Linked DNA regions of Homo sapiens: regions 1 and 2 are each linked to region 3. The links are contacts of gene promoters, found by promoter capture Hi-C in blood cells and fetal thymus (Javierre and others, 2016). All regions are on one chromosome and are shown on one strand. Each heading gives the region's core, a stretch centred on a gene start or on the middle of the fragment in contact. The rest is flanking DNA. Distances are from core to core; before and after follow the strand shown. Region 1 overlaps GRM1 (glutamate metabotropic receptor 1). Region 2 overlaps GRM1 (glutamate metabotropic receptor 1). Region 3 holds the start of RAB32 (RAB32, member RAS oncogene family).

Region 1 (2,700 bases), core at 123-2,622, 490 kb after region 3:
CACATATTTGTCTTTCCTGTTATAAACATAAAACCCCGGGGTTTTTTTATTTCAAAAATGTATACTTCAAGCTTTTGGGGCATCAGGCATTGTTCTAGGTTCTGGAAATATGACGGTGTCCTGTTAGTAGGTGAGTATAACAACAAATATGTAAAGAATTGCATAAATGAGATAATTTCCAATAGTAGGAAATGGCACAAAGTAAACACAACAAAGCAACAGGATAGAAAGTGAAAGGGGAAGGGTTATACTTTATATAGAGAAGGGATTCCTGAGGAAATGATATTTGAATTAAGATCTAAATGAAAAGAAGCAGCCAGCCACAAAAATAGCTGAAGAAAGTGGATTTCAGCTGGAGGAAACAGCCAACACCAAGGCATTAATGAGGGTACATCCTTCATGTGCTCAAGGATGGCAAGGAGACCCATGGCTGAGTGGGATGGGATAGGTGATACCAGATGATACTAGGCAGACTCACCCTATACATTTGCAATGCTAGACACACTCTTTACCCCTTTCTCTCCCTAACTCCCCATCCTTCTCCCCATGGGAAGGGCTGTGAACACCTGAGTCTGATTTCCAGGCTCCAGCAGAGCCTCCACGGCTGGGGCTGGGCATCTATAGGTTTTAAAGCTCCCTAGATAAATGTAATGAGCAGCCAGAAGTGACAACCAGTGCCCTAAACAAAAATTAAAAAATAAAAACTTAAGTTATAAACAACAGAGAGGCTGAATTTATGGCCCATAAATGACTAAGAAAATGGAATGTAATAAAGTAAATATAATATTGAGGAAAGTTTGGTTACAGAAATTGCTCCCAATCTCTAATTCTTTCCCTCAGACAAATAAAGAACATGTTTTCCTCACAGCCTCACAACTCTGATTTAAAATTTAAAAAAATCCTACTTTGTAATGTCAATTTATTTAAACTAACATTTTCAGCCTATGTACAAGGAGTTGTAATAAGTGCTATATAAATCAGAAGAGATATAAGATATATCCTACTCTCGAGAAAGTTACAAGCAGCATTACAAATATCTGGTTTCAGCCTTATGATCTTGTTGACATGACTTCAGCCTCCACCACCCTTTGCAACTGGTATTTTCTTCCCAGTGCCTTTTCAAATCGCAACCTTGTACAGAGTAGAAGCCATTAGTTTATATAAACCAAGAAGATTATATAAGGGTGCTTGGGAAACAGTAGTGATGATGATTAAAGATGATTCTCAGGAAACTTCAGGAAATGCTATACATATGTTCATAGCTAAAATCCACTAACAATTATGAAATAGGAATAACCTTTGATGTCTTCCAACTGGCCTGTGAAGGACTGGCTCCCCGCTGCAGGCACTACTCTGTCATGACCCCCTAACCACTTATCTGAAAATCTTGAAGTCATAACTGATCATAGCTTTAAGTGCTATATTTTCCAAAGGCATTACCTTTTAACAGGAGCATATTAAACACTGCAAATTTTCCAGATGCAAAGCAGTCAAGGGATGGGAGCAGTTAGATGCCTAAGAGGCTCTCAGTCTATTCTCTATATGAATCTTCCTCTTTTCCCCTTTATCAGTAAATTATGTGCTAGCTCCAGTGTAGGTCTCTGAAAAAGACTTAGGATGAGCACTGTATCATATTTACAGATGGAGGGGAAGTCACTTCCAATAGAAGCTAACCACTGTAGGATACACAATATCAGACCACCACCTTATTAGCTTATGTGTGTATGTTTATGTATTTTATTGAGTTCTTATTATATGCTAGCCATTATCTTGTTAGCTGCATGAGAAGTAAGTACAATTATAATCTCTGGTTTGCAGATTTGAGGAGTAGGTTTAGAGAGTCTCAGTGACTCACCTAAAGTCACACGGCTCTAAGATAGGGTAAGAAAGCAGATGTGTCTGAGTCCAAGTCTCCTTATTAACCACTAATCCCCCTCCTTCATACCCAGACTTTTTATTATGTGTCTGCTTGAACTATAACTACAAATGGAGGAACCAAAATTTAAAAGGCTAGTAGCTCTTTTGGTAAGCCAAAGTCACTGGTAGACCTTCCCAGGAAGGGTTGATTGCAACGCTCTGTTATGAAACCATAGACTCTATGTATCCTCCTCACTGGATCACAGGTTCACAGGTCATCAGCTTTATTTGGTCCAATCAAATGAGCCTAATACCGGAATTCCTTCCACAAAAGCAAATGAACAAACAAACAGGAATCTCATAGGCATATGCCGTAATCACACTAGGGACTAAGTAAGAGAGGCTGGCTTCTGCATGAACTAACACTACAATGGAAAATTAATTGGCAGTGTGTAGATTCTGCTTTGGAGAATGAGCAGCTAAGAGTATTGTCAAATTTCAAAATGCAGTAAACTCCCATTACTAATGCCCTGGAAATTTCCAAAGAGAAGATATAGCTTTTCTTCCCCTCCCCCCTCTTAAAAATATCCCTTGTTTTTAGAAATATGGATATGTTTGTTTCTTTTAATTATAGAATTGTTCTAAATACAGAAGAAAAGAAGGCATGTCTTTTTATCATCATTTCCAGGAGTTACTGTGTTTGAAGGTTTTTCAAGGATCAAGTGTGCTTTAAAACAAATCAGTGTGTAGCTACTCTTACCCTCTGACAATGCCTCCCTCTATCTGTTACTTGCAGCCAAACAGGAGCAAGCTTTAGAGTAGAACTGCCTTTTCTAGAGAGAC
Region 2 (2,700 bases), core at 10-2,509, 270 kb after region 3:
AAAAAGTATTTGAATGAATAATGATGAAACTTGTCAATTTTGACCAAAAGAAATCAACCCACACATCCAAGAAGTTCAATAAAATCCTAGCAGGATAAATACAAAGAAAACCACACCTAGTCCCACCACATTTCTGAAAACCAAAGTAAAAGAGAAAATCTCAAAGGCAGCCAGATAAATTACACACTGGTGAACAATAATAAATAAGAATTATCACGCCCTTGTCATAGAAAAATGATGCAAGCAAGAAGGCAAGTGATGAAAAAAAAATCAATAAATAAAACCCATCAACCTACATTTCTATAGTCAGTATAATATTATTTTTAAATGATGGCAAAAAAATGGTGTTTTTATATAAGTAAAAGCTTGGGCCACAAGCTCACTAAAACTCAAAGGATTAAGTGATACAAATAATGTTCTCTCACCACAACAGAATTAAACATAAAAATCAATAATAACACAATCTGGAAAAATCACCAAATATTTTGAATTAAGCAACACACTTATAAATAATTCACAGTTAGAGAACAAATGTCAAAGGTAAATAGAAAATTTTTTAACTGAATAATAACTAAAACACAGTCTATTCAAATTTATGGGATACAGTTAAAACAGTGGTTAAAAAATTTTTATATCTCTAAATGCATATGAAAGATAAATAAAAATATTTAAAATTAATGTGTTTCAACTTTAGTAACCTAGCAAATTAATATCAAACTAAATCAAAAGTATGTAAAAAAAGAGAGTATGTAATAGAAGTTAAAGCAAATCAAAGAAACCAAAAGTCATTATTTGAAATTATTAGCAGCATTTATAAACCTCTAGATATACTGAAAGAGAGAGACAGAGAGCAGATATAAATGATCAATAATAGCAATGAATTAAAAATCACTATTGATTCCATACACATTAAAAGGAACAGAAATTATTATAAAAATGTTATGCCAATAATGTTGACAGTTTAAAAGAAATTTTAAAATTCCTTGGTAGACACAATAGAAAAATGGACTCAGGAAGAATTTAATGGTTACAATTACAATATCTGTTAATAAAAATGAATTTGCAATAAAAAACATTCTCAGCTGGACGCGGTCGCTCACGCCTGTAATTCCAACACTTTAGGAGGCCGAGGCGGGCGGATTAGGAGGTCAAGAGATTGAGACCATCCTGACTAACACGGTGAAACCCCGACTCTACTAAAAATACAAAAAATTAGCCGGGCGTAACCTCTAGCTCTATATAACTTCTCTGTTGATTTCCATTAAATATTTAAGGAAGAAGCAAAGTTTTTGTTTTGTTTTGAGACAGAGTCTCACTCTGTCACCCAGGCTGGAGTGCAGTAGCGTGATCTCGGCTTACTGCAACCTCAGCCTCCCAGGTTCAAGTGATTCTCCTGCCTCAGCTTCACAAGTAGCTGGGACTACAGGCATCAACCACCACACCCGGCTAATTTTTGTATTTTTGTATTTTTAGTAGAGACAGGGTTTCACCATGTTGGCCAGGCTGGCCTTGAAATCCTGACCTCAGGTGATCCGCCCGCCTTGGCTTCCCAAAATGCTGGGTTTACAGGAGTGAGCTATCACGCCCAGCTGGAAGAAGCAAAATTGATGTACAAGCAGCTTACTCTCTCTACTACCAGAGGCAGAATAAGTAACATGTCATTAAGGGTGAATATATGGAGTAACACAATAGAACAAGCATGAACTTAATTCCTAATAGACCCTAATCCAAATACTCTCTATGCCACATCCAGTAGTATGCCTGGAGTAATCTCTTTAACTTTCTAAGCCCAATTTTTCTCACATATAAAGCAACATTAATATTATATCACCTGATTATGCTGAAAATTAAAAACTAAAGATAATATATTTAAAGTACAACATAGCTTCTGGTTTTTAATGAGTCTTCCAAATAAATATGATTTGAAGGTACATAATGATATTTCTTTTGGGGTTCTTTATCAAATGGATATTATAATAATGAATCAAAGAGAAAAAATATAATCACTTTAATCTTGAATCCAAATGATCTGGAATCACTGAAAGTTGAAAACTTGGTAATAGATACTTAAAAATCTCAGATAGCCTAAAGATAGTATGTTTTCAGTAAATTTTTTTCTCTTAATGTAATTTAAAGTTAACTATTAAGCTTTTAATTAAAAAATCTTGCTTGACTTTAGAAGCATTTTAGGAAAGCTTTCTGAAGTGATATTATTAATTTAATTATTTAGGAAAGCTTTCTTAAGTGATATTATTAATTAAAAGACTGTCTTGAACCATACTTTGGGGTGAGGCAGGCACAATTCACCCTCAGTCTCAACTATTCACTAGAATCACTCATGAGACTTGAACAACTGTTAACATTCACAGTTACAATATATTGTAACAAATGGATACAGATTAAAACATCAAAGGGAAAAAGTGTAAGAAGTCAAGTCCAGGGGAAACCAGGAGCAAGGTTCCAGGTGTCTTCCCCCAAGGCAGTTGCATGGATAGTCTTAATTCTTGAAATGTGTAAAAACATTTGCCAAAGTCTGTAAGCCAGGGGAACTCGCTCAAATCTTGATGTCCAGGGTTTTTAATTGGGAGTCAGTCAGGTGACCTCAGCTACTCAGTCTCTAACCCCTCAAAAGCAAAATCAGTTTTCACCATAGATCATACTGTTAGCCTAAACTATTTGATCTAACCGGTGCTGGGTGGC
Region 3 (2,700 bases), core at 184-2,683:
AGGGTCTCACTCTGTTGACCAGGCTGGAGTACAGCAGTGAGAACACAGCTCACTGAAGCCTTGACCTCTCCTAGGGTCAAGTGATCCTCCTGCCTCAGGCTCCTGAGTAGCTGGGACTACAGGCACGCACGACCACACTTGTCTAATTTTTTGTATGTATGTATGTATATATGTATGTATGTATTTTGTAGAGACAGGGTCTCACTAACAGCCCAGGCTGGTCTCGAACTCCTGTGCTCATGCGATCCTCCAGTCTAGGCCTTCCAAAGTGCTGGGATTACAGGCGTGAGCCACTGGCACTTGGCTTGGTACCATTTCTATGAACTTTCCAATAGTTAACATCATCTTTAAAACGCCCACTCCCAACCACCACACCAGGCAAAGTTCAAGTGTTCATAAATCAGAGCAGAGGGAAATGTACCCCCTCAAACAGAACAAATGAAAGCAAATGGCAGAGAAACACTGTATTGAGGAGTGGGGGGGGGGCGGGGGGGGGCGAGGGCACCAGGGATGGGACTAGGTGTTGGTTTAGCAAGAGAGGAAGGGGTGAGTGTAAGGTTTCAGAAAAGCTTTCCCAAATCTTCACGGAGTGTCTGTCCTCGGCTTCCGATGAGAGCAAAGTATTTGAGGAATGGAGTTTCCCTCACAAAGGCCAGTCTCAGAGCCAAGGCGGGTGGTGGAAAATGATCTGGAAAGGAACCTGGCTTTTGGTCTTGGTGGTGTCACTAACTAGGAGTGCAGCTTCGGGTTAAGTCACCCAATCCCTCTGAACTTGAGTTGAGGCTGAGAGGCGCCGGCCCGCTCCAAAGCAGCCTTCTCAACTAGTCCTGGTGTATGTATGATATACTTGCATTATTCAGAGTTCAAACTTCTGGAAAAGGCCCCCTGGCCTCCTCGCCTCCCTTCAGGAGAGCGAGCTCTGGCGTGCAGGACCTGCTCCAACTCCTACTGCCCATCCCATCCTCTGGGCCCCACCGAGTCCAGCCGACCGCGTCCATCGCATCTCGCCCTTGGATTGGGCCTCTCTCTTCTCCTAAAGGTACCCAGGCAGACGAGTTCAGGCAGAAAAGAAAAAGAAAAGAAGCAGAGAGGAGCCAGGCGGCCCGGCGGGGCTCTGGAGTGGGAAACTCGCGGCCGCGCTTACCCGCGATGTCCCACAGCTGCAGGCGCACCAGAGTCCTGCTGTCCCAGTTGAGGACCTTGAGGGCGAAGTCCACCCCGATGGTGGCCCGGTAGTGCTGGGAGAAGAGCTGGTGGACGTAGCGCTTGATGATGCTGGTCTTGCCCACGCCAAGCTCGCCGATCACCAGCACCTTGAAGAGGTGCTCGCGGGTCTCGGGCGCTGGGGCGGCGGCCGCCCCCAGGCCGGGGTCCCCGGCTCCTCCGCCCGCCATGAGCGCTGCGGCTGTCGGGCGCGCCTCGACTCCGAGTCTGGCCCCCTGCCCGGCCTCGCGCTCTGCCGCCGCGCCCCCGGCGGCCGCGGAAACTCCCCCGAGGCCGGCCAGCCCTCCGCCGCGCCCGCTGACGCCGCCTGACCGGTCACAGGACCCAGAACCCGCCAGTGCTCGCGGCCCGGGCGGGGCCAGACGAGGGCAGGGCCGGACGAGGGCAGGGCCTGGCGCCGGCTTGGGGAGGACCCTGCGCGAGGCGGCTCCCGCCCTGCGCCTCTGAAGCCCGGCCGGGCCCAACTGGACTTCCTCTCCCGGGCGGCGCCTCCGAAGCCCGGCCGGGCCCAGCTGGACTTCCTCTCCCGGGCGGCGCCTCCTGGCGGTCGCGGCGCGGAGGGAGGCCCAGACGCCCGCTGGTGGGCCTCCGGGGAGCCGGCCTGGAGCCTTTATGGGCCCCGGAGGTTCACTGGGGGCCTGAGGAGGCGCCGAGGTCGCTGAGCCCCCCCCGGGGCCGGGGTCGGCGTGGGGTCCGGGCCCAGCCTGGAAGCCTCTGGCCTGGAAATCCACCTCCTGCCCTACTCTCCCCGCAGGGAGAGCCACACTTGCGGGCCTTGGCTTGGGTCGCGAGCAGTCCCCTTTAGATGGGAAAGGAAGTGGCACCGTGACTTTGAACTTAACGAAGGACGGATAACACTGGGCTGGTAGTTCTGTTTTTAACTTTTTGAGTGAACCTCCGTAGGGTTTTCCATAATGGCTGTTCCAGTCCGCATTCCCACCACCAGTGTACAAGGTTCCCTTTGCTCCGCACATCACCGACACTTATTATCGCTTATCTTTTTTATAACAGTCATCCTAGCAGGTGTGAGGAGATACCTAGTGGCTTTTCCCTGTTCATTAGTGATTTTGAGCGCCTTTTCTTATACCTGTTGGCAATTTGTACTTCCTCTGGAAAAAAAAAAAAAGTCCATTCACATCCTTTGCCCGTTAGTTAACTGGGTGTTTTATTTATTTATTTTGGCTGAGTTCTGTGAACGTAATGTATTTTGGATATTAACCCCTTATCAGATATATGGCTCACAAATATTTTCTCCCAATCTATAGGCTGTTTTTTCATTTTGTTGATTATTTCCTATGCGGTGCAGAAGCATTTTAGTTGGATGAAGTCCCATTTATCTAGGTTTGCTTTGGTTGCCTGGGCTTTTGGTGTGATATTGCAAAAATCGTTGCTAAAGCCAGTGACCCAGCTATCCCTCTTCTGGGTGTATACTCAAAGGAAATGAAATCAGGATCTCAGAAATCGCTCTCAAGTTCA

Evidence for each region. The method cuts DNA at HindIII sites, captures the fragments that hold promoters and counts their contacts. A CHiCAGO score of 5 or more calls a contact.
Region 1: a fragment that was not itself captured here is called in contact with the fragment with the promoter of RAB32 in region 3 in 1 of 17 cell types (endothelial precursors); the score reaches 11.5 in endothelial precursors.
Region 2: a fragment that was not itself captured here is called in contact with the fragment with the promoter of RAB32 in region 3 in 1 of 17 cell types (M2 macrophages); the score reaches 5.8 in M2 macrophages.

What each region holds. Positions count from the first base shown.
Region 1 is chr6:146,050,310-146,053,009 of GRCh38, reverse strand. The region is part of intron 1 of GRM1 (glutamate metabotropic receptor 1); the gene reads right to left. Among named protein-coding and RNA genes, the nearest start is that of GRM1, 23 kb to the right of the region's middle. The HindIII fragment of the contact is 2,597 bases long and covers 74-2,670 here.
Region 2 is chr6:146,277,385-146,280,084 of GRCh38, reverse strand. The region is part of intron 2 of GRM1 (glutamate metabotropic receptor 1); the gene reads right to left. Among named protein-coding and RNA genes, the nearest start is that of GRM1, 250 kb to the right of the region's middle. The HindIII fragment of the contact is 1,783 bases long and covers 368-2,150 here.
Region 3 is chr6:146,542,566-146,545,265 of GRCh38, reverse strand. It overlaps RAB32 (RAB32, member RAS oncogene family), which reads right to left and starts at 1,433. Exons shown (of 3, transcript NM_006834.5): 1 at 1,145-1,433. The coding sequence starts at 1,394. RefSeq lists a silencer at 1,480-1,859. The HindIII fragment of the contact is 5,944 bases long and covers 572-2,700 here.